Regions from separate parts of the Homo sapiens genome. Here all the other regions are linked to region 1. Evidence: promoter capture Hi-C in 16 types of primary human blood cells and fetal thymus (Javierre and others, 2016). All regions are on one chromosome and are shown on one strand. Each heading gives the region's core, a stretch centred on a gene start or on the middle of the fragment in contact. The rest is flanking DNA. Distances are from core to core; before and after follow the strand shown.

Region 1 (4,906 bases), core at 974-3,473:
GGCATATGGTGAAACTGGTGGGAGGTGAGGTAGGCAGACAACAGAACAGTGAAGAATGGCTGGTTTCAAGTGCCAAGTGCAGAGAAGGCAGGGTGAGTGGGTGGGAGGTGGAGAGCGCTGGGGATACTGTTTCTTGGTCATGTCTCAGATCACACAAAGAATCAAATAAGATTTTAGTTTCTCTATCAATACAGAGCTCTCTCTTAGGTCTCCATTTTGCATCCAGCAAAAGCAGCAGAACCCCCAGTTCACTATGGGGCCAGGGTGATTTAATAGAAAAACCCTCCCTTTTGAACAGCTCCTGCCCCTCAGTCCCAAGGTGCTTTCTTTGCTGGAGCAGAAGGTCTTGGAAATTTTAGGGAGCTACAATTGTGTTAGCCATTTTGTACCCAGAGCTGAATATCTGATCAAACATTTTACTGCAACCTGCTGGAGAAGAGGCCACGGATACCATCAGCTGTTCTCAGAAATGCACACTCCAGGGAGGAGTTGCTCAGCGCTGTTTTCTCTACATAGAAGATTGCAGGAAATGCCTCTCAGCTCCTACGTTTCTCCTACACAGATTCTCTAAAGCAGCTTCTGGGGTGTGGTCACTGCTTTTCTCTCCACTCCAATGGAGTGAGTGGGTAGGGAAATTTTTCCTCAGTATCATGGCTACAGCCAGGACAGCTTAGAAACCGTATTGCAGGTCCCAGGCACGGGGAAAGAAGCCAAACTGCAGAGGGCCAGGAAGCTCAGGGCCAGGTCTGGGCCCAGATTCTGGTGCAGTGTCCAATGACTTTATATTTATTTAAAGAGGAGAGCTGCTTGGTAACCAGGAGGCTGAAGCCTTCCTAAGCTGCAGAGCTCCCCGTCTGCCTGACTGCACAGGAATGATCTGGGTGTTACTCCCAGTGGCTGCGGCCCAGCTGTCACCGGAATGGGGATAGGGAAAGGGCTTCCTAATCCAGGGCTTCTGGCTACAGAGTTTAGAGCCAGGACCTTAAACTGCTAGGACTTTAAGTATCAGAAATTCTGAGAATCTTATTTTTCTCTTTCTGCACCCCAGCAGCCACCCGCATCAAAATGCCTCCCTTTCCTATTTGAAGGCAATACACATACGGTTGCAAAGGGAAGGTTCTGACTGCTGAGATGTAAATCCTAGCTCTTCCAATTGGTAGCTGCCTGACCTGGGCCAAGAGACTTAGCCTACATGAGCATTATGTAAGAGTGCCCATTTGTAAAATGGGAAAACATCTCATAAAATTATTGCAAAGATTAAGAAATGAAAAGGTAACACGAAATACTTAGCATAGTGCCTAGTACACAAGGCAAGTTCGATTAATTGTGCCAGAAAGAACCTTAATGTCTTGTTTATGAAATAGGATGAATGTAGCCTATTCCACTGGCGACCTGTGAGAAAGCTTTTGTTGCAGGAATGTAAGAAATTATTATTTTGCCGCTGCCGTTTCCTCCCCCATAATCTCCAAGAACATAAGAAATTAACTCTCCAAATCCCAGAATGACAGCTTTATGCCCCAAATTAGTCGACTTAATTTTTTTTCTGATTCGGATTTGGCCTTTTCCTCTCACCACCTCCTCAAACCCGGGGCCCCAAATCATCCGCGTCTTCTTGACCCCAGCCCCCACCGAATTAGGCTGACTTGGGACCCCAGCGCCAGCCTCCTCCTCGGGAAAGTGAGCAGGAAGAGACGCACTCGGGTGATCTCACCCTTTGGGACTGGGCGTTTTTCCGGCCGGGGCGCGCAGCATCCCCAGCCAGACTGCAGCGATACCCCCGCCCCGCCCTTCTCCGCAGTCCTGGAAGAGCTCCCAGGGCGGAGTGGTGCGATGCAGACGACTGTCCGCAGGGCGGGCGGTGGCGGGGCGCAAGCTGCGGGGAGGGAGGTGAGGCGGGAGCGTCTCTACCGCCAGGGCGTAGGCAGTGACCTCACTGCACCATCACCCCTCACCCCTTGCGCGCGCCCCATTTCCCCATCCTCCCGCGGCCCGCCCCTCGCTCACCTCTTCCCCCGCATTGTCGCTTCGGCTCCTTCCGGGATCGCTCGGCCCTTTCCGCCGGGCGGTCGGGCGGCGAGCCGGCGGGAGCACCGCCCCCTTTGCTCCGCCGGCGCGCTCCCCCACCCCTCGCGCAGCGCCGGGGCGCTTCCCCCGGCGCTCGCGCCCGCCCGCCGCGGGAGCGCGCGTAGCCGCTTATAAAAGAGGCGGGGCGCGCGCGTCGCCGCCACTACCCGCTGCGGAGTGAACGGTGTGGAGCGGAGGCCGCGGAGGCTCCTCGGTCCTTCAGCACCCCTCGGCCCGACGCACCCACGCCCCTCACCCCCCGAGAGCCGGTGAGAGGGGCAGCCGGGGAGCTCCGGGAGGGAGCGGGGCCCCGGGCAGCCGACCCCCGGGTGGGAGCTGGGCAGCTCTTCAGGCGGGGCGGGGCCGGCGCGCGGACAGGTGAGCCGGGCGGGCCGCGGGGCTGCCTCCATTCGGCTGAGTGGGGGAAGCCGCTGCCGCTGCTTTTGTGGCGCGTGGGCTGCGGAGGAGCAGCCGGGCCGAGGCTCGGCGCCGCCGCTGGAATGTCACTGACGGGGGGAGGGGGCGCGAGGCCGCCGGGTCCCTCCCAACCACCCCCAAGCCTGGCTGCGGCGCGGCCCTGCCCTGCCCCATCCGGCTGCGGCAGGTGGGTGGGGGCTCCCTCGTCGGGATCTTCGCCAGCCGCCTCCCTGCAGAACGCTCCCCGCACCGCCCCCGGTCCCTTCCCTCGGCCGGGAGCGACTTCTGCAGCTCGTTCTTCCGAATCGCACCAGCAATGCCGGCCAGCCGTAGAGGGAGGAAGAGCCCGGGGAGCCCGAGCATAGCGTAAACGGCTCTCTGACCTTAATTTCATCCTGCATGGCGAATCTCTGCCGTCTCTCTGAACGCAGAAGGGTCTGAGACTGGCCGTCTCCTTTTCTTTCCTTGTAATAAACATTTTTCTTTCTTCCTAGTTGTGATTTGCTTGTAAATAATAGGTAAATGCAGTGCTTGCATGGTATGTGGCTCAAATCAAATAACTTAATAGCTTAGCGTTCTTGTTTGTGTGTGTGTTTCCTGGGACTGGGTCTTTCGAGTCGAGATACAGTGTCAAAAATTCTACCATACCACTGTTGAATGATAGAACAGTCTTTTGTTTGAAAGCTGTCCCTGAGAATTTGATTAGACGCTTCCCCTAGAACATCGCTTTCAAAAGTCTCTGATGTACTAGAGTAAAATATATTTTAAATAAGCGCCTTGTTAAAAGTTGAATATGTTTTAAATGAAAAGCCTAAATAGCTCAGAAAGCTGGGTTGAGATGATGCTTGAACTGTTCCAACATCTAATCAGATCTCTTTTATATAATAGATCCTAAAATATTTAAGCCCTTTGTTCTGTCTTCATCATGTTATTTTAGAAAAACTTACCATCATGGCTGTTCGGGAAGAACAGGAGAGAGGCCATATGAAGTATTTTCATAATGTGTTGAGAAATTGCGTCGTCATAGCAATTGGCCTTAAGTAAAACAGAATGTATCAAAGATGGAAGGGTGGGGGTGTCTTGGAGCCAGGAAACAGAAAATCTTGGAAATAGCAGGAGGAACACTCAGCTATATGAAGCCATTGAGTCAAGGTTCCGACTCCTTAACTAGTCGTTTATTTTCCCTTTCATTGCAGCTAACTAATGTCTTAGATTTTGAAAGGTCAAATTGAATGTGCTGCGGAGGAAAAAAAAAGTGCTGCAGTAAAGGCCTCTGTGCAGGAAATTAACAATAAGCCTTTTTTAGTAACTGGGCCAATAATTACTCAAAGGGACCCTCAAAGTGTGTTAACTGTTATCCAGGGACCTTGATGGAGAGACTGGAAAGGAGGATTTTTGCTTCATCCTGGACAAGTGTGAAGCAGTTCTTATGGCAAACCATCAGCCTAGTAACTGATTCTCTGATATGCTTTGGTCTTGGCAGTGTGTTTTGTAGTCATCTAATAATTGGAGAAATCTGGTATGTCACAGGCTGCAGTGTAAGCCTGTCAAGCAATATGATGAAGAGGTGCACATGGGGAGAGCTGTTTTAAGTATGTCTTTTGGTTCCCTGGGTTAGAATTTTTTCTGCTTTTTCTTACCTGCCTTCATCCAAAGTTGGGGGTCAACTGCAGATCCTGAAAAGTGGATCTCAGGAATAGTCCCCCATGTCCTGTCACTGCTGAATCTACACTAAGAATGGACAAGTGTGTTCAAGGCTGGCCTGCCTTTGTAATCAGTCCTCCGTGGGCTATGCAGGGATCCCACTAGTTACGCACTCATCTGTTGCAGCATATCAGCTGCGGCTGTACTGTAGAAGAATGCAACGCCCTAGTGGCAAATGCTGACTCCAGGAATGCGGAGGAGGAGGAGGACTGCATAGCTCATCACTGGGGGCCACTTGACTGGAGCAGCTGTGCTGCAAACCATCACCTCTCTTCCACCTTTTTTGCATATTCCTCTTGTACCAATTTTGAACAGGAAATAGTATTTTGTAAAGTAAGTGTACTGGCAAACTAGGCCCAAGTCAGATCTTTGTGGCTTGAGTTCTACTTTGTGGCAATTTCATGAAGTCATGCTCTTTTATTGCTGAATGGAAGGGGATTTAGGAATCATCTTGTCCTGGGATCCTCAGGAGGAAGGCATGTTTAGTTTGAAAAAGTATATTCGGTATTATTACTTTAACAAGTGGGGAAATTGAGGCCCCAAGGAGAATGAGACTTGACCAGGGCAGCATATCTAGAAAGTAACTGCCAAGACCTGGGAACCTTGGTTCTCCTTCCACATTTTAAATCCCTTGTGGGATTTAGACGCTATACAGAATGTCAGAGAGAAGACACTGAAAAAATATCTGAAATTGGATTTTTAATCTGTATTCATATTTTTT
Region 2 (4,906 bases), core at 1,045-3,544, 480 kb after region 1:
CTCCATGTTGGTCAGGCTGGTCTCCGACTCCCAACCTCAGGTGATCCGCCCGCCTTAGCCTCCTAAAGTGCTGGGATTACAGGCATGAGCCACCGTGCCTGGCCCTTGGCCCCCCCCCCACCCTTTTTTTTTTTTTTGAGACGGAGTTTCACTCTTGTTGTCCAGGCTGGTGTGCAATGGCATGACGATCTTGGCTCACTGCAACCTCCACCTCCTGAGTTCAAGCGATTCTCCTGCCTCAGCCTCCCAAGTATTTGGGGGCAGGTACCACCACCCCCGGCTAATTTTATATTCCAAAGTTACCACAGTACTTACAGCACCCTCAGCCTGGGTGTCTAAGCTTATCATCCCATGCGCCTCCTCCCCTGTGCCAGACAACCCCACTAATGACTCTGGCCTGTGCACTCATTCCGCCTGGACCCCAACAACATCCCCGACTCCCTTTAGCCACTCTGCCCAGTCTCCTATTCACCCCATGCCAGACCTCTCACCAGTCCCACCATGCCGGGCACTGGGCATCCGCTGTTTGGACCACCCTCCCCTCCCGTCCCCTCCCTTGCCTTCCCCTTCCCTCCCCTCCCCACGGAGTCTCGGAATGCAGTGGCGCCATCTCGGCTCACTGCAACCTCCGCCTCCCGGGTTCAAGAGATGATTCTCCTGCCTCAGCCTCCTGAGTAGCTGGGATTACAGGCGCATGCCACCACCCCTGGCTAATTTCATCATGTTGGTCTGGCTGGTCTCGAACTCCTGACCTGGTGATCTGCCCGCCTCGGCCTCTCAAAGTGCTGGGATTACAGGCGTGAGCCACCACATCCGGCCTTGGACCCCTTTTCTTTCTGGAGCCCTTCACCTCCCCAGGCAAGCCCAGGTATCTCCTTGGTATCCCACATTCCCCCATTAGAGTAACCATCACAGGGGATTGTGATTAAGTATCTGCTCCCCAGACAATGAGCTCCCTGGTGCCACCACATACCTGTCTCTTGTCCACCACTGAGCTCCCATGTCCAGCCAAAGGATTGGCACACTTAATTAGTTGAATGAATGAAGGAATGTGGCTTTACCGACAATTGTAATTTTCCTTTTTTTTTTTTTTTGAAATGGAGTCTTGCTCTGTCACCCAGGTTGGAGTGCAGTGGCGCAATCTCGGCTCACTGCAACCTCCACCTCCCAGTTTCAAGCGATTCTGCTGCCTCAGCCTCCTGAATAGCTGGGACTACAGGCACACGCCACAATGCTGGGCTAATTTTTATATTTTTAGTAAAGATGGGGTTTCACCATGTTGGGCAGGATTGTCTCGATCTCCTGACCTCATGATCCACCTGCCTTGGCCTCTCAAAGTGCTGGGATTACAGGCGTGAGCCACTGCTCCCGGGCTTTTTTTTTTTTTTTTTTTTTGAGATGGAGTCTGGCTCTGTTGCCCAGGCTGGAGTGCAGTGGCGTGATCTTGGTTAACTGCAATCTCCTCCTCCCGGCTCAAGCAATTCTCCTGCCTCAGCCTCCCAAGTAGCTGGGATTATAGGTGTGTGCCACCACGCCCAGCTAGCTTTTTTATTTTTAGTAGAGACCGGTTTTCACCATTTTGGCCAGGCTGGTCTCGAACTCCTGACCTCATGTGATCCACTCACCTCAGCCTCCCAAAGTGCTGGGAATAGAGGCATGAGCCACTGCTACCGGCCGACGATTACAATTTTAAAACGTAGTTGTGCCCAGCTCTTCGCAGTTATGGAAGGGCTGATACACCGTCCTCTTTCCATCCTCACCAAAGCCCTATGATTTGGGAAAGGGAAGATTTTATCCCTATTTCTTTTTTTCTTTTTGAGACGGAGTCTCGCCCTTTGGCCCAGGTTGGAGTGCAATGGGTGGATCTCAGCTCACTGCAACCTCTGCCTCCCGGGTTCAAGAGATTCTCCTGCCTCAGCCTCCTGAGTAGCTGGGATTACAGGTGTGTGCTACCAAGCTTGGCTAATTTTTTTTTTTAATCTTTAGTGGAGACAGGGTTTCACCAGGTTGGCCAGGCTGGTCTCGAACTCCTGACCTCGTGATCCACCCACCTCGGCCTCCCAAACTGCTAGGATTACAGGCGTGAGCCACCGCGCCCGGCCTCATCCCTATTTCATAGAGGGGTAAGCTCTAGAGAGCTGAAGTGGCAACACTTGATTCTATCTCAGGTCGGCCTGATCTCAATCCTGGTATTTAGTGTAAGACCCAGATAGGTGGCCAGAACTGAAGACCCCTTGACTCCAGCTCTCAGAGAGACACTGTCTAGCGGCGAGACCTGGCACTTTTGCAAACAACTCCAGAACAAGGGGGAGAGTGGCGACAGTATAAGAGCATGCTGCGGGAAGTCAGGGGCGGTAGTATTTGAAAATGGGCGCTTGGAGAGTGGGAAGGATTTGTCCTTGTGTGGAACAAGAATAGAGGATCCTAATACGAGGGCTCAGCCTGCTTTGGCGTACTCCAAGAAAGCCCCTTGGAGGTCTGACTGCTCCGCTTCAGCCCCTTTAAGAATGGCCCCGCCCCACCCAGCCGCCCATGTCGATCTAATCTGAATGACCAATAGTAGAAGAGAAGAGACCACTTTCGCGCTTCAACCGCACTAGGAGGAGGGGAAGAGGGCGGGAGAGGCGGAATATAAGCTTGGTCACATGACCCGCCTAATTGGCCAGAGGCTGCGGCGGCCCTGAGAGACTCAGCGATGCTCATTGGCCAGAAGAGGGTGGGGGCTTGGCGCTAGGCCACGCCCCCGGGCGGCCGGTTTGGTTGCGCAGCCGCCGGGGAAGGAGACGCTGCCCTTCCGCAGCGATGGCATCCCGGGTGAGTATCGGCCCCGGCCGAGCCCCCAAGGCGGGCGGGCAGCGCGGCAGGGCCGGGACTTGAGCGGAGGACCGAGTAGGCGCAGGTGTCCGGGCCCAACAGGACCAGGAAGGTGTCGGGGTTGGAATGAGTGGGTACCCGGGCCGGGGACGGTGCGAGAGGGTGCCTTGCTTGGGAGCGGAACGAGAAGGTACTTGGGTCAGGGAGGTGATGCCCGGGCCTGGAACGTGGCGGGGATTGGAGCAGGCGCGCAGGTACCCGATCCGAGGCGGGGAGAGCACCCGGGATGGAAGGAGCAGGCGTGCGGGCCGTGAGCGGCGCCAGAGGGTACCTGGGTGAGTTTCAATGATATTCCGGGGTGGGGGCAAGAGAAGAAGGGGCTGCCCAAGATGCCTGGGGTGGAGTGAGCAATTTCTGAAGACGGGGATATTGCTGAGGTCCAACGCGGGGATGCCCGGTGCCCGGCATGGTGGGACTATTGAGGGGTCCGGCATGGGGTGAATAGGAGACTGGGCAGAGTGGCTCAAGGGAGTCGGGGACGTTGTTGGGGTCCAGACGGAATGAGTGAGTGCACAGGCCAGAGTCATTAGTGGGGTGGTCTAGCGCAGGGGAGGAGGCGCGTAGGATGATATGCTTAGGCACCCAGGCTGAGGGTGCTGTAAGTGCTGTGGTGACGGTGGAATGAGGAGGTGTCCGCCTAAGATTGTAGGGCACAAGAGATGGCTGCCCAAGTGGGGCCAGGCCCTACACAGCAGTAGAAGTGTCCATTTGGTAGGGGACCTTGCCGTGGGCTTTTCATTGTGGAGAGGAGGTGGAGGGGTCTCAGCTTAGGCCCTGGAGGACGGACAGGGTGCCAGGGGGACGGACACAGTGTGGGTTGACTGGATTTGGATCCATCCCTGGAGTGAAGCAGGCTTGGGGGCTGGTGATGTTACCTCGCACCTGCAGGCTCTGCCTCCCAGTGGGGACAGCAGGGGCTGCTCTGGACTCTCCCGCAAACAGTGGGCCTCAGTCACCCCTGTAGCGTTTATTTGTTCAGGCTCATCTTTAACACCATGTGGGCTTCTCACTTGGGGGCCCAGAAGTCCTACAGTTGTGGCCTGGAAGGAGCAGTGGCAGTTGTAGCAGGCAGAAGCTGGGAAACCCTGCCACAGCCTTGAGATCCCCCAGAGCTTGGCCGCTTAGTACTCGGTGACCTCAGGCAGGCTGCCTCATCTCAGAGCCTCCGCGTTTCCCCATCCTTGAGATAAACATTGGCCATTGCGAGGGTTCTGAGAGGACTGGACCCAAAGCCTGTCGTGGAGAGCCTGTTCTGGATCTGGCCTGGAATAAGAGCTTGGGAAATAGTAGCTGCTGGCCCTCTGATGTTCTTGTCTTCCCTCTTTCTGAGACCTGAGCCAGCCTGGGGTTGGGGTGAAGGGTAGGGGGACGTGGCTTACAGTATTAACCTAGGTCCTGACCACTGCAGCTCACGTAGCTCAATTCACAGCCTCCTGGGCAGATGTCTCTACCCCTGACAACCTGGAAGCTTCCTTAGCCTGCCCTGCCCTCTCACACACCCCCACCAGCCCTAGAGCGAGACTGACAGGCTCCTCAGTCCTTCCCACTCACTGGGGAGAAGCTGTTTCTTCTGCTGGCCCAGTGACTTTGGCGGCCATCCCAGGGAGACAGGGTCTGTCCTGGCTTGTGTGTTCCTTCCGCTTGAGGTCCCGGGAGACCTTGAAGGCATCCTTGGGCTTGGAGCTGGAAGTGGGGGAGGACCCTGCCGGGTCTTGGGGTCCAGGCTAGGTGTGATCAAGCCACTTATTTCCTGGCCTTGGGAAGGGGCAATGGGGTACCCTGGCAGGGAGGGGAGTATCTCCCAAGGTCCAGGGGAAAGCTGCCCAGTACTCTGTGGTCTGCTGGGGCTTGCTACTTCCTGCTGCATGTCAAATTTAGCAAAAGCATTGTACTGAGCACAAAGTCTGACTCTACCAAGTACCAGCTGTGTGACTTTGGACTCCTGACTTAGCTTGTCTGAGATTCAGTTTCCTCATTGGAAACCAGAGGTGAGGCTGGGGGGAAGGTGGGTGGCATCAACTTCACATAATCC
Region 3 (4,906 bases), core at 1,806-4,305, 400 kb after region 1:
ACGGAGTTTCGTGCTTGTTGTCCTGGCTAGAGTGCATTGGTGCAATCTCGGCTCACCACAACCTCTGCCTCCCAGGTTCAAGTGATTCTCCTGCCTCAGCCTCCCGAGTAGCTGGGATTACAGGCATACACCACCACGCCCAGCTAATTTTGTATTTTTTAGTAGAGACAGGGTTTCTCCATGTTGGTCAGGCTGGTCTCCAACTCCCAACCCTAGGGGATCCGCCCGCTTCGGCCTCCCAAAGTGCTAGGATTACAGGCCTGAGCCACCATGCCTGGCCGAGTCTGATTATTAATAAAACTGCATTTGGGCCGGGCGCAGTGGCTCACACCTGTAATCCCTGCACTTTGCTGACATGGGCAGATCACGAGTTCAGGAGTTCAAGACCAGCTTGGACAATATGGTGAAACCCCATCTCTACTAAAAATACAAAAAAAACTGACTGGCATGGTGGCGTGCGCCTGTAGTCCCATCTGCTCAGGAGGCTGAGGTAGGAGAATTGCTTGAACCCAGGAGGCGGAGGTTGCAGTGAGCCAAGATTGCGCCACTGCACTCCATCCTGGGTAACAGAGTGAGACTCCGTCTCAAAAAAAAAAAAAAAAAAGAAAGCACAAAAAACTGCATTTGCGGTCGGGTGCCTTGGCTCACGCCTGTAATCCCAGCACTTTGGGAGGCCAAGGCAGGCAGATCACTTGAGGTGGGGAGTTCGAGATCAGCCTAGCCAACATGGTGAAACTCCATCTCTACTAAAAATACAATAATTAGCTGGGTGTGGTGGCTGGCACCTGTAATTCCAGCTACTCGGGAGGCTGAGGCTCGAGAATCACTTGAACCTGGGAGGCGGAGGTTGCAGTCAGCCAAGTTGGTGCCACTGCACTCCAGCCTGGGTGATAGAGTGAGACTCTGTCTCAAAAAAAAAAAAAAATACTGCATTTGTATAATTACCTTGTTCTTTTCCAGAGTCAGATTGAGGCAGAACTGAATAAACATTGGCGGCGATTGTTAGAGGGGCTTTCTTACTACAAACCTCCCAGGTATGGCAGTTCCGGGTGTCTGGTTAAAGTAATTGTCCTAAGGAAGCTGACATGGATAAAACCATCCTTCTATGTGCTTTGATGATATTGTAGGGTTATGTATACCAGAGATAATACAATTTAGTTTACCAGTGGAAAACAGTAGGGTACATTTGTTTTTTTGTTGACCGAAAGAAAAGGAAATTCCTTCTAGAAATACAGTATTGTAGAATATAATTATGACCTATGTGTGGGGATGAGAATTTATTAAACATTCAACGAATTTTCTAATATTTATTCAGAGTCCACAGTGTCTGTGTGAGTACTAATTGGTGGGAGATAGCAGTGAAGGATGATGCTAACAACTGACACTTGTGTAGTGTTAACTATGTAACAATTAATACTCTAAGCACCTGACTTATCAAAAGTTATTTAATCCCCACAACACCCCTTTGAGATAGTTACTACTTTTATTCTTTGGGTGAATATATAGATCTTTTTATTGGGTAGTGGAAAACATAGTAATAAAATATAAAGTAGTTGCAAATAAAGAGAATGCAGCTTGTAGGGCTGGGCTTATTTGATCTTGATTCCTAGTCCAGATCTCATTCTATTATGCGTTATAGTCTAAGTCACCCTCATTTCCCTTCTACTTTTGTACTGCTTTTGAATGTATTACATCTTTACCTTCCATTTTCATTCTCTTAGGTTAACGATGAACTTTTCCTTGTTATTCATCTGTCTGTTAATTCTTCCCCTGTAATTACCTTAAAGTAAATCCCAGATACCTTGTTATTTTATCTGCAAATACTTGACTATGTATCTAAAATACATGGACTTTTTAAAAAGATAATCTCTATATTATCACATTTAGGTACCCTTATCATTGTTTCCATTTTACCAGTGGGGAAACTGAGGCACAAAGAGGTTAAGCAACTTGTCATGGTCACACAGCTACTAAGTGATAGAACCAGGATTTGACCCTGGTGGTCTCATTCCAGTGTCTGTTCTTTTTTTTTTTTTGAGATGGGGTTTTGCTCTGTCGCCCAGACTGGAGTGCAGTGTCACATCTCAGCTTACTGCAACCTCCACCTCCCGGGTTCAAGTGATTCGCTTGCCTTGGCCTCCCGAGTGGCTGGGATTACAGGTGCCCGCCACCACGCCCAGCTAATTTTTGTATTTTTAGTAGAGATGGGGTTTCACCATGTTGGCCAGGCTGGCCTTGAACTCCTGATCTCAAGTGATCTGCTCACCTCGGCCTCCCAAAGTGCTGAGATTACAGGCGTGAGCCGTCATACCCAGCCTATTGTTTTCTTTACTATCTTTTTTCTGTTCCAGGATCCAACCTAGTTGTCAAGTGCCTGTAGTCTCCTCTTAGCTGTGACAATGTCTTAGTCTTTTTTTTTTGAGATGGAGTCTCGCTTTGTGGCCCAGGCTGGAGTGCAGTGGCACGATCTCGGCTCACTGCAAGCTCTGCCTCCCGGGTTCACGCCATTCTCCTGCCTCAGCCTCCCGAGTAGCTGGGACTACAGGCGCCCGCTGTGACAATGTCTTAGTCTTTTTTTTTTTTTTTTTTTGAGATGGAGTCTCGCTCTGTGGCCCAGGCTGGAGTGCAGTGGCACGATCTCGGCTCACTGCAAGCTCTGCCTCCCGGGTTCACGCCATTCTCCTGCCTCAGCCTCCCGAGTAGCAGGGACTACAGGCGCCCGCCACCACGCCTGGCTAATTTTTTGTATTTTTAGTAGAGACAGGGTTTCACTGTGTTCGCCAGGATGGTCTCAATCTCCTGACCTCATGATCCGCCCGCCTCGGCCTCCCAAAGTGCTGGGATTACAGGCGTGAGCCACCGCGGCCGGTGACAATGTCGACAATGTCTTAGTCTTACCTTGATTTTCATGACCTTGAACAAGTTTGAGGACTGGTCAGTTATTTTGTAGTATGCCCCCAATTTGGGTTTGTCTGATGTTTTCCTTATTATTAGACTGGGGTTGTGAGTTTTTGGGAAAAATACACAGAGGTGAGGTGCTCTTCTTTTTTTTTTTTTTGAGATGGAGTTTCGCTCTTGTTGCCCATGCTCGCGTGCAATGGTGCGATTTCAGCTCACTGCAACCTTTGCCTCCTGGGTTCAAGCAATTCTGTCTCAGCCTCCCGAGTAGCTGGGACTACAGGTGCATGCCACCATGCCTGGCTAATTTTTGTATTTTTAGTAGAGACAGGGTTTCACCATATTGGTCAGGCTGGTCTTGAACTCCTGACCTCAGGTGATCCGCCCGCCTCAGCCTCCCAAAGTGCTGGGATTACAGGCGTGAGCCACCACGCCTGGCCAAGCTACCCTTCTTACCACATCATAGCAGAGAGTACATGCTGTCCACATGAAATCACTGGTAATGTTAATCTTGGTCACTCAGTTAAGGAGGCATTTGCCAAGTTTCTCCTCTGTAAAGTTACTTTTTTCTCTTTTCCTATTTTATTTTTTGGAAGTGAGTACTAAATATAGCCATGTCCAGCTAATTTTTTTCACTTTTGGTGGAGATGAGGGTCTCACTTTGTTGTCTAGGCTGGTCTCAAACTCCTGGCCTCAAGCTACACTCCTGCCTTGGCCTCCCAAAGTGCTGGGATTACAGGCATGAGCCATTGTTCTGGCCCCTCCCTATCCTATTTATTTATTCATTAGTTTATATCAGTATAGACTCAAATATATTTATTTTATTTATCTTATACTTTGTTTATACCTTGTTTCAGCTTTGGCTATTGGGCATTCTTTTAGGTTGGCCTCTGTCCTTTGGGCGTGTCCTTCCTTTTTTCTTTTTTTCTTTTCTTTTTTTTCTATTATGTCATCTCCTACCGAAAGGACTTTGGTTTCTTAAGCCCTTTTGTACTTCTTTTCACTATAAGATGCTTCAAGATTTTCTTGTATTTTCCTTGCCCTGACTCTAGAATCAACCAATTCTCCAAGGAATCCTGTTATTAGAGAATGGTATTATAAAGCAGGATCTGGGTGCTGCATGTACCTCCTGCTGTTGGAGTATTATAAATTCTAGGCCTTCTCGGTGGACAGAGCTATTACAGATAATATATTAATATATGTATGTATGCCACAGACCTGGTTTTAAATTTTAGCAACTGTTTATGAGCTGTGGGATTTTTGGTAAGTTATTTACCCTAAGTGCTGGCAATTCCATTTGTAAAAGGAGAATAGTAATATTTGCCTTTTAGGGCAGTAGTAAGGATCAAAAATAATGTAACTTAATGTGTTTACAAATAACATTGTTATAACTGTAATTTAACCACTTTTTTTTTGTTTTGTTTTGTTAGGCATAACCAGTTCTGCGTTATGAAGTTTGTAGAGGTGAATGGGTGTGTGTGTGTGTGTGTGTGTGTGTGTGCGTGTGTGTGTTTGTGTGTGTGTTTATAGGCATCTGAAGGGCAGAAAATAGTCTGTAGGAAAAATATTTTAAAATATTTTTATTTTAAACTCAGTGGGCTATTGAGAATGAAGAAATGATTCACTGTTCTTTTTGTAGTCCAAGTTCAGCTGAAAAAGTGAAAGCTAATAAAGATGTAGCTTCACCATTGAAGGAACTGGGTTTAAGAATCAGCAAGTTTTTGGTGAGTAAAAATTAGCACTCGCTCAATTTATTACTTGCAGTGTGGATGTGCGTGGTTATATTGCTAGTGATAGTGAAAATTCAGTTTCTTTTTGTTTTGGGGATTAAATTGTTTTATAAATACCCAGGTTGCAACTCTTCTCCCTAAAAGTTACAAGTCAAAGTTGCCTGATCCATTCACTGCATATCATAGGGTTTTCTTCACCAGACATGTGGTGGTCTTTAAGGTGACTAAGTTTGTCATTTTGGAAGCTCACATCATGCCTACTGCTGTATTAATGTGCT
Region 4 (4,906 bases), core at 1,350-3,849, 300 kb before region 1:
TCATCTTCTCGGAGCTGCTGGCCAACCTGTACTCGTGTGGGGACCAGAACACGCTGATGGAGGAGTCGGCGGAGCAGGCACAGCGGCGCGACGAGATGCTGCGCATGTACCACGCACTGAAGGAGGCGCTCAGCATCATCGGCGACATCAACACGACCACCGTCAGCACGCCCATGCCCCCGCCCGTGGACGACTCCTGGCTGCAGGTGCAGAGCGTACCGGCCGGACGCAGGTACCAGGGCCGGCCCCCACGGCCCCAAAGCCCCCCAGCCCGGGGCCCGCGGGAGGAATGCCGGGACCGGGCAGTGGCGCGCCCGCGTCACCGGGGTGGCTCCCACCTGGAGCGAGGGGCGGAGCTTAGAGAGGGCGGGGCTTGTCGCGGGGCGGGGCTTGCCGTGGAGAGCTGGCTGCAAGGCTGGGTGGAGCTGGGGCGTTGGCGCCGCTGGGGGCGGGGCTTAAGCTCCGGCGACCGCCTTAGGGGTGCGGCAGGGAGGGGCTTGCGTGCATGGGCGTGGCCAGCACTGGGCTGGGGCGGGGCCTCTGGGTGGGCGGAGCTGCTCATCTCGCCTCTCCTTGTTCCTCGCTCCCTGTCGCCCTCAGGTCGCCCACGTCCAGCCCCACGCCGCAGCGCCGAGCCCCCGCCGTGCCCCCAGCCCGGCCCGGGTCGCGGGGCCCTGCTCCTGGGCCTCCGCCTGCTGGGTCCGCCCTGGGGGGGGCGCCCCCCGTGCCCTCCAGGCCGGGGGCTTCCCCTGACCCTTTCGGCCCTCCCCCTCAGGTGCCCTCGCGCCCCAACCGCGCCCCGCCCGGGGTCCCCAGGTGAGTAGGGGCTGAATGCGGCTGGAGAGGCTGCCGGACGGGCGTGGCCGGGAGGGAAATGGGGCTGGATTCCAGAGCATCGGACCTGGCCGCCAGAACCGGCCGTTTCTATCCCAGGCAATCGGACTCTGGGTGCCGGAGCCACGCCACGTGTGGCCGAGGGCTGGCGGAGCCTGCCCCCGAGGGAGCGCTGAGTCCCGGAGGTGGTCGTTTCTGGGGAGGGGGCTGTGGGGCTCGTCCCACCTGCCCCCTTCTTTCCAGCACTTGCATGGCGCTTCCCTCTATTTTCACTCTTGGCGGCCGCCCACACGTTGCATTCCTCCTCCTTTCTTCTTCTTGCTGTCCTCCATCCTCCATTCCGTCCAATTCCTCTCCCAGCCCCTGGGGAGCCTACCTTAGGTCTGACTCTGAACCCCGATCTGCTCTGAGTGTGTGGATTTCCTTCAGCTACCCTGATGTCCCCACTTCCCAGCCCTGACTCCTTTGAGCCATCCCAGGGGGTGTCCAGCCACTGGCCCACAGGAGCAGAGGCCAGGCTGTGACTGTGTGACTAGAAAGGTGTGTGATGTGTGTGTGGGCGTGCACACGAGTGTGAGAGTGTAAGCATGGCACCCAGGCCCGGGCTAGGACAGGAGCAGCTGGGGAAGCAGCCTGGGCCGTGGGCAAACTGATGGCTTTTTTCCTCCCCCCAACCACCCCCTCCGCGACTTCTGGCCCTACCCAGTCTAAACCAATGTGGTAGGGGTGGCGGCAGGGGCAGGGATGGGAGTGCTTGAAGCCTGCTTCATTCCCAAAGATTTCTAGGGAAAAGCTTTCTACTACATCCTTTGGCTTGACCTTCTTGACCCATGACTCTCTTTCAAGGAAGTTCACTCCAATTCCCAGTCTGCCCTGTTTCCACTGGCCACATTCTCTAAGGAAGAACACAGCAGAACAATAGCATCTGTTTTGTTTCTGCATGGCTGGAGGGTAGGGCTGTCGGTCTAGCACCCATAAACCAAAATGAGGCAGGGATTGGGGCTTGCCCTATGATGCTCTGATGACCAAAGCAGATGCGTAGAGGCAAGCAGCATGGTATTGGGCAAGAGGACTGGACTGGGAGTCCAGAGATGCTGCTTCACCCTGGGCCTTTAGACACGTCTCTTTCCCTCCCAGAGCCTCAGCATCCCTTCTATCAAATGATGACATTCTGCCTTTTTCCCAGGGCGGTTGTGGGGATCGAGGGAGACAGTGGCTATAGGGATGCTGTGTTAACTGCAGATGCAGCCGTAGGAGCACTTTGCTAACTGCCAACGTGAGTTCAGATTCTTCAGGGTATTTGGCACCCAGGTCTATGGTGCGGTGTGAGATCTGTGATGTAAGGTTTGATGCCTGCCCCAACTCCAGTCTTGCTAACACACATGAAACATTTGGCAAATCATGACCCTACCTTGGGGAAAAGAGCAGTCTGGGAGAGCTTCTTCAAGGCAACCTGACTTCAGTGCAGTCTGAGGCATGGCTGAGATAGGCTTACGTGGCAAGGAATCAGGAGGGTATCTGGGCCAAGAGCTGCAGTGTGGGCAGAGGTGTAGTGTGGGCTGCAACGAGGACAGCCACTGGACAAAGCAGAGAACAGAGACAGAATGAGGAAGAGCTCTGTGGGCAGGGTGGGGCGCAAGGTGGAGAACCTTCAAAGTCTGAAAAGTTTGACTTGTTGGGGCTCAATGCTGTGGGCAGTAGGGAACCACAGAAGGCTCTTAGGTGGAGAAATGACAGCTGGACTTTAGCGAGCAAGCCCTATCTCCATGAGCAGCACGGGTGATCCTCTAAGCACACCAGGCACGAGTGTGCAGGGAGCTGGTGCAAATGCCTCTGTGTGCGGGTGAGCTTCTGTGTTGTGACTCTGCCCACACGTGTGCTTCAGTGTGCTGAGTGGCTGCATGCCCCAGATCCATGCTGCACGCGCCGCCGGCCAGTGAGGGTGCTGGGCACTGGGAGGTGGCGGGGAAGGAGGCGTATGCGTGTTGTTTGTGGGCATGTGTGTTAGCGTGTGCATGTGGGCCATGGGGCCTCACAGCATGTGTGTGCACGCCCGGGCGTGTGCGTGTGTGTGTCCCCCACCCCCAGGCCGGCCCCACCCGTGCGTGTGAACTGCCATGTTGATTTCGTGCTGTCTTTCAGAATCACTATCAGTGACCCCTGAGGAGCGTCAGCCATGGTAGGTACATGCCTCACCGCCTGCTGCATGAACGGTGTGTCTGCCCCGCTGCACTAGCTCCACACGGGGCGCGCACCTGGGACCTCAGAGCCAGGCTCCCCGCCCCTCCCTTCTGCAGCTGCAGACTTGCTCTTTCCTCTTTCTGTCCTTGTGCCGCTGGCTCTCTCACCTCCCTTCCCTGCGAGCCTCGGGACTCAGTGCCACTGCCCAAGGCCTCCATGGCTGAGCCTGGAGGCTCTTGGAACAGGCTCCGCGCCCAAGCTGGCAGACATGGGTGCTCTCTGGAGCCGTCAGAGAGGGCAGAGAGCTCGTGGTTTATGGTGTAAAGGCTGGGAGCTTGGAGGGGGTCGTGTGTGGGGCTGGACTCTGAGGCGGCCAGAGGCCTAGGAACGTTATCCTGGGCACACCGTGCGTGGTGTGCAGTCTGAGTCATGCTCCCTGGGTAGGGCATCCAGCTCCCAGCCTGGGAGTGCTGAGAGCCAAATCCACCGTAGAGCAGGGGTGAGAGTCAGGGTCCCACCTCCTCTATCTGCCGGCAATCCAGTGGTGACCTAGGGTAAAAGCTTGAGAGTCCCATACACACGGTCATCCCACGACATACCTCACAGGCCAGGCAGGGACACACAGCCCCCTTCCCTCCCTCCCAGGTACCGTCATAGCTGCTAGTGTGACTGAAGGCAGTGTCCCTGGCCCCAGCTGAAGCACCGTAGCCAGCCAGCGGGCTCACGCACCTTGGCCTGTTGCTCCTAGGGTCACTTGTGCCATTCAGCCAAGGGGACGACCGTGCCTGCTGGCCCAGCTGAGCTCCGCCCAGTGAGCCCACCCCCCATTCTCCTGCCACTGACTCTCGCTCTTCTGCTTTTCCCAGCAGGAAGGGCCCAGCCTCACCTACGAGACCTGCAGCCCCCCGACCAGCTGAGGCTCCCCTCTTAGACTTATAAGTCTATGGCCACTGGCATCCGGCTGCCTGCCCTCCCTGCCTCCCCCAGGGTCCCTTCAGAGGGTCCTGGGTTTTCTGAACACCCAGAGGGGCCTCCGGCGCTCCCTCCAGCCATCCCTTTTAGTTTCACCCTCCTGGTTCAAGCAGTGTTCTTTCTCTATCAGGCCTGGTGGCTGTTGCATGGGGCTCCCCAAGGCAAGGGGTGGCCCCAGGCCAGTGGGTTGGAAGACAGGGTGACCAGAGAAGAGGGAAGCCCGAGGGGGCCGAGCATCAGCCTGAATTGCGGGTGCCCTGCCTGGGTGCCGTGTGAGAGGCCAGCGTGTGTGGGGTGGGGAGGGCCGCCACAGCCCCCAGGCGCTATCTGTGAAGCTACGGCTCCTCCCTCCATCTTCCTCCCCTTTCCCTTCCAGCCCCTTTTCCAGGAACCTTGCCACACCCACACCTGCAGCCTCCCCTCCCCGGCCCTCCCACCACTGCTGCGGCGCGGCCGGCCCCGGCCGTGTGCTGCGCTTGCCTTACCAGCTCTCTCCTCGCTTTTCTCTCCCGTTTTCTCTCTGCTTTCTCTCCAACTGCCAGCCGATCGGGTCAGGCAAGTCCATCCCGTCCTGAGAGCCCCAGGCCCCCCTTCGACCTCTAAACAGATCCCTCCTCTTCTCGGAGACCTCCCTTTCCAAGCCTGCCTGGACGGCTGTTCTGTGACTTGACAGTGGCTCCCCCAGCCCCAAAGCCAGCCCCCTTCATCTGTGACTTAATCTGTTGTAGTGGTGAGCTGATACATTCAGGTGTGACCGTTGGTGAAAACTTGTGCCCCTTCTGTGGTATGCCCTTGCCCTGTTCTATAAATATCTATAAATACTCATATATATACACACCTACACATGGCCAACCGCCTCGCCTCTAGCGCTGGGAATCAGTCACTGTGCTATCCTTGTGGAGTCTTGTGGCCCAACTAC
Region 5 (4,906 bases), core at 559-3,058, 280 kb before region 1:
TTTTGCCACAAATCAGCAGCTGCCAGGGGCCAAAACCAGAGGCAGAGGTACTTTTCCACCTCTCATCCCAGAAACGGGATGAGAACACTTAGGGATTGGGTCCTAAGATCAAAAGCTGGTTTCACGCACTAATTACGGTTCCGAGGGGGACTGCGACATCACTACATTCCACTCCACCAAGGAGAATTCAAATATGAGGTGGAGAAGTCAAGCCTGGAGTCCCAGCTACCTGGGAGGCTAAGGCAGGAGGATTACTTAAGGCCAGGAGTTCAAGGTCAGACTGGGCAACACAGTGACACCCCCTCTCTAAAAATAAATATGTATCTTAAAATGTGGGCCGGAACATTAAGTCGGCAGGAACTGTACACTGTGTGGTTTAGAGTCATACATCCTCACACGTTTGGTAATGTTAAGAAATGCACCAATGCCTCTCAAACTTTTACATCAATGTATCCACATGGCAGAAGGCAGCCTTTCTGTTGAACCTGGGAATTTAACAGAAAGAGGACAACCCAAGCCTCATTTCAGAGAAAAGTCTGGTATACTCTTAGAAATTTATGTGACTGTCATCCCTAAGTACATTAATGTTTTTTCTCTCTCAAGAGAATAAAGGGAGACTGATGCTTCAGAAAGATGCCCCGTATTTATCCTGTGGCACTCCAAGTACCCCAGGTTGAGATGATATGAGGAAGATTCAAGCTGTCAAGTTCAGTTTCCCAAGACCTGTTCCACAGAAGATAAGCAGATCTCATTCCAGAGACCACTGAAGGGCACTCTGGTCCCAGAACCATGGAGAATTCGAATATGAGGTGGAGAAGTCAGAAAAAAATGTTAAAGTCTCTCTGGAGAGTAGAAGCCTGGGGGAAAACCAAACCAATCCCGTTCTCACATTGCCACCCAGAGATACTGCCAATGTTTTCAGTTCACGGGTGAAGTGTAGGCTTTTCACACTGTCAATGTCTATGTTAAGGGTGTAAGGCAGCCTGAAACCTCTCCCTCCTAGGTCCCATAGTCCCCAATCCCCTTCCAGCTGGAAATTTATGCTGTGACCAGAGGAACCAGAAGCGGGATGAGAACACTTAGGGGACTGGGTCCTAAGATCAAAGACTGGTCTCGCGCAACTAATTACGGTTCCGAGGGGGATTGTGACGTCACTACATTCCACTCCTAGGGGGAACATCAGCGCGACGTCCAAGTCGCCGCTCCGCGATGGGGGAGGGGACCGCAGGGCCAGGACCCAGGTCCTTGGAGACCCGAGACCAAAGAACCCCGGGAGGTCCGGTTTGGGGCGGCAGGAGGTGAGGGTCGAGTCTGGAGCGGGGGGCCCCGGGAGTCACGGGCCCAAAGTCACTGGCGAGGGCAGGGGCTGAATTGCTGGGGTCCTAGGTCCTTGGAGACGCCAGCCCAAAGAGCCCAGGGAGGTCGGACTTCGGGGGGCAGGAGGTGAGGGCCGAGTCTGGAGCGGGGAGCCCCGGGAGCACCAGCCCAAAGTCACCCGGGGGCGACTGGCGAGGGCGGGGGCTGGGCGGCTGAGGGGGCGGGGCTGGCTGACAAGACTTTGGTGGAGGGAGCCCGGACGCGCCGTGGGGAGCCCAGCCCGGTGTGCCTCAGGAGTGGCAGAGACTCTGGCCATGGTCCTGCCATCGGAGTGGGGCTGGGGCTGGGTCGGGGGGCCGCGACCCGGTGCACTTTACCTTTTTCTTCGCTGCGGCCAATTTGCTCTGTCGGGTTTCTTCCGACATCGCGGGGCGGGGAGGGAGGCGGGGTTGGGGCCACATCAGCGCGATCCCGGCAACCACTGCGGAAGTCAGTCAGCCACCGCGCAGCTGTGCGACGGAGCCAGAGGAGGCGTAACCAGGGCGATACTGGAGCGCAGAATGGGGGCGTGGCCTCAAAGATCAAAGCCCATTGGTCAATGAGAAATATGAAGCGGAAGGGGGCGTGGCTATGCAGCGGCGTGGCCAGAGGGACCTGTGGCGTCACAACAAAAGCTGCGCACGCAACCGCTGTCCCCGCCCACCTCGGGAGAGGGGCGGGGCCGGCTTTCCTTGGGTGCGCGCGCAGCTTTCTGTGCGCCAGTTCACACTCCGGGTCAGAGTTCCTGGCCCGGTGCACCTGAGAGGTCGCTCTCCGACTCCCGCGCTGGACCCTCTTGCGCCATTGAACCCCCTGATCCGGGGGCCTCGGACCCCAGGGCTCAGGAGGTGGGCGAGGAACGGACTCCACAGTTTCTTTCCTGACTCCTCACAGCCCTGCCCCAGACTCTCCCTTCCCAGAAATCACCTCCAAAGACTCCCATCCAGTGCTCCAGACAACCCCCGTCTCAGAACGCCCCCTTCCTAGAGGGTCTCTACCCTGATCCTGAGAGCGTGTCTGCCCCCTTTCCAGATGGATCCAGTCCCTGGCGCTCCTACTTCCCAACTGCTCCTCCTCCCGCATCCCCACAGTACCCCGTCCTCACAGCGGGCTGTGGGTCCAATCAGACTTTCCCCTCGGATTCCTCTCTAGGACTGAACCAAGACTTACCCGAAGTTGCCGCGGGGCCTTCCGATCCCCTGTGAGTATTTCTTCCCCCACACCCCCTTTCCCATCCTCGACCTTCCCTTGTGCGCTCCCGGCCCCACTCCCCATCCCAACAGCAGCCAATCCCCGCTTGGCCCTCTTCCATATCTTCTCCCAGTCGACTGAGAACCGCCAGGTCATTCCCGAATCCCTCCCCTTCCTTTCCTCATGCCCGCCAGTCTTCAAAGAAGTGTTATCCTGTCCTGTCCTAGGCTAACTCCTCTCCCTCCCCATCCTGTCTCCTGGCTCCTCAGATGCCTTTCACTCCAGTCCAGCACCAGCCATCTCTCCTCCTCGCTCTTTTCACCCCTCACCCAGCCCTGCCTTTAAACAAACCCATAGCTCCCCAGTCAGGAAAATGCTTGGCGTTCACCCTGGCCACTCCTTTCGTTGCTAATAGTCTCTCCTCTTCGCTGGCAAGCCACCCCCAAAACGCAGCCTACTCCTTCTCTCATCCCCCAGATGGAGTTGCCACTACAACTACCACCACTCTTAAGGTAGATCGTGAGGGCCGGGTGCAGTGGCTCACACCTGTAATCCCAGCACTTTGGGAGGCTGAGGCGGGCAGATCATTTGAGGTCAGGAGTTCAAGACCAGCCTGCCCAACATGATGAAACCCTGTCTCTACTAAAAATACAAAAAAATCAGCCGAGCGTGGTGGTGCAGGCCTGTAATCCCAACTACTCAGGAGGCTGAGGCAGGAGAATTGCTTGAACCCGGAAGGTGGAGGTTGCAGTAAGCCGAGATTGCACCACTGCACTCCAGCCTGGACAACAGAGCTAGACAAGTCTCAAAAACAAAAAAGAAGTTAGATCGGGAAAGACTTGGTATTTGTTCATTGATTTAGCAACTGCTGCAATGCAGGTGTATGCCAGATAGCCCCCTGCCCTCCAGGAGCCACAGGCAAAAAAATAATTCCAGGACAAGTATGCACATGGTTCTGAGATGGGGAGCCCAGGCTTGGGCTTGCAAAGAGGGCTCTCCAGAGATGGCAGGGTCAGAGGCAGGGCCTGAAGGGCAACTCACAGTGAGCTCAGATGACGATGACGGGGTGGCAGCCATAGTTTGCCAAAAGCACTGGGCTGATTGAGCTTCTCTCTGCAAGTGGGTTGGTATCCACTGTCTTTGACCATGCGGTAACTCACTGCAGATCATGCCTTTCTCATTCATGCTAATTCATTCCTTCTCTTTTTTTTTTTTTTTTTTTTTTGAGACACAGTCGCACTCTGTCGCCCGGGCTGGAGTGCAATGGTGCGATCTGGGCTCACTGTAACCTCTGCCTCCCAGGCCCAACCCATCCTCTTGCCTCAGCGTCCCAAATAGCTGGAACCACAGTTGTGTGCCATGACGCCTGGCTAATTTTTTTGTATTTTCAGTAGAGACAAATTTTCGCCATGTTGCCCAGGCTGGTCTCAAACTCGTGAGCTCAAAGCAACCTGCCCGCCTCGGCCTCCCAAAGTGCTGGGATTACAGGCATGAGCCACCATGCCCAGCTTCCATTCCTTCCATTTTTAAAAACAACGCTCGACCCGGCACAGTGACTCACGCCTATAATCCCAGCACTTTGGGAGGCTAAGGTGAGTGGATCACCTGAGGTCAGGAGTTTGACCAGTCTGCCCAACATGGTGAAGCCCCATCTCTACTAAAAATACAAAAATTAGCTGAGCATAGTGGTACATGCCTGTAATCCCAGCTACTTGGGAGACTGAGGCAGGAGAATCGCTTGAACCCAGGGGGTGGAGGTTGCAGTGAGCCGAGATCACCCTGCACTCCAGCCTGGGCAACAGAGCGAAACTCCATCTCAAAAAAAAAAAAAAGGAGGCTCTATTGAGCATTGTCCCATCAGCTTACTTTACATGCATCATCTTTCCAGTTCCTTCCAGCAACCTTTGAGAAGACGCTTTACTGTCCCCATGTTGAGGTGAGGCCTGTGAGTTCCAGAGAGATGAATATAGCCAGGACGTGGCAGAGCTGGGGGCTTTAAACTGAGAAACTGAGTTGTTTTTGGTTTTTTTTGTTTTTTTTTATTTGAGACGGAATCTTGCTCTGTCGCCCAGGCTGGAATGCAATGACACGATCTTGGCTCACTGCAACCTCTGCCTCCCAGGTTCAAGTGATTCTCCAGCCTCAGCCTCCCTAGTAGCTGGGATTACAGGTGCCCGCCACCATGCCCGGCTAATTTTTATATTTTTAGTAGAGACGGTTTTGCCATGTTGGCCAGGCTGGTCTCAAACTCCTGACCTCAGTGATCCACCCGCCTCAGCCTCCCAAAGTGCTGGGATTACAGGCATGAGCCACCGTGCCTGGGCTTGAACTGAACTCTTAAGCGGTACCTTGGGCTTGC

The links. The method cuts DNA at HindIII sites, captures the fragments that hold promoters and counts their contacts. A CHiCAGO score of 5 or more calls a contact.
Region 2: a fragment that was not itself captured here is called in contact with the fragment with the promoter of SPTAN1 in region 1 in 13 of 17 cell types (fetal thymus, total CD8 T cells, naive CD4 T cells and 10 more); the score reaches 8.6 in fetal thymus.
Region 3: a contact is called between a fragment that was not itself captured here and the fragment with the promoter of SPTAN1 in region 1, in 1 of 17 cell types (M2 macrophages). The highest score is 7.3, in M2 macrophages.
Region 4: a fragment that was not itself captured here is called in contact with the fragment with the promoter of SPTAN1 in region 1 in 1 of 17 cell types (endothelial precursors); the score reaches 5.0 in endothelial precursors.
Region 5: the fragment with the promoter of GOLGA2 here is called in contact with the fragment with the promoter of SPTAN1 in region 1 in 1 of 17 cell types (endothelial precursors); the score reaches 5.1 in endothelial precursors.

What each region holds. Positions count from the first base shown.
Region 1 is chr9:128,550,364-128,555,269 of GRCh38, forward strand. SPTAN1 (spectrin alpha, non-erythrocytic 1) reads left to right here and starts at 2,224. Exons shown (of 57, transcript NM_001130438.3): 1 at 2,224-2,333. LOC101929270 (a long non-coding RNA gene) reads right to left here and starts at 2,050. Exons shown (of 4, transcript NR_188457.1): 1 at 2,005-2,050. RefSeq lists silencers at 1,868-2,637, 4,187-4,481 and an enhancer at 4,673-4,906. The HindIII fragment of the contact is 3,549 bases long and covers 1,402-4,906 here.
Region 2 is chr9:129,033,868-129,038,773 of GRCh38, forward strand. It overlaps MIGA2 (mitoguardin 2), which reads left to right and starts at 2,759. Exons shown (of 16, transcript NM_001329990.2): 1 at 2,759-2,814. RefSeq lists a silencer at 2,744-2,873 and an enhancer at 3,214-3,343. The HindIII fragment of the contact is 679 bases long and covers 1,956-2,634 here.
Region 3 is chr9:128,951,813-128,956,718 of GRCh38, forward strand. NUP188 (nucleoporin 188) reads left to right here. Exons shown (of 44, transcript NM_015354.3): 3 at 961-1,034; 4 at 4,538-4,622. Among named protein-coding and RNA genes, the nearest start is that of NUP188, 6.6 kb to the left of the region's middle. The HindIII fragment of the contact is 8,060 bases long and covers 1-4,906 here.
Region 4 is chr9:128,250,125-128,255,030 of GRCh38, forward strand. DNM1 (dynamin 1) reads left to right here. Exons shown (of 22, transcript NM_004408.4): 20 at 1-232; 21 at 601-816; 22 at 4,530-4,906. The coding sequence ends at 4,590. Among named protein-coding and RNA genes, the nearest start is that of MIR3154, 7.5 kb to the left of the region's middle. RefSeq lists an enhancer at 1-2 and silencers at 173-672, 683-772. The HindIII fragment of the contact is 1,949 bases long and covers 1,626-3,574 here.
Region 5 is chr9:128,274,199-128,279,104 of GRCh38, forward strand. It overlaps GOLGA2 (golgin A2), which reads right to left and starts at 1,809. Exons shown (of 27, transcript NM_001366244.2): 1 at 1,695-1,809. The coding sequence starts at 1,778. It overlaps SWI5 (SWI5 homologous recombination repair protein), which reads left to right and starts at 2,078. Exons shown (of 5, transcript NM_001318089.2): 1 at 2,078-2,204; 2 at 2,509-2,557. The coding sequence starts at 2,143. RefSeq lists enhancers at 1,273-1,322, 2,183-2,312 and a silencer at 1,473-1,582. The HindIII fragment of the contact is 23,128 bases long and covers 1-4,906 here.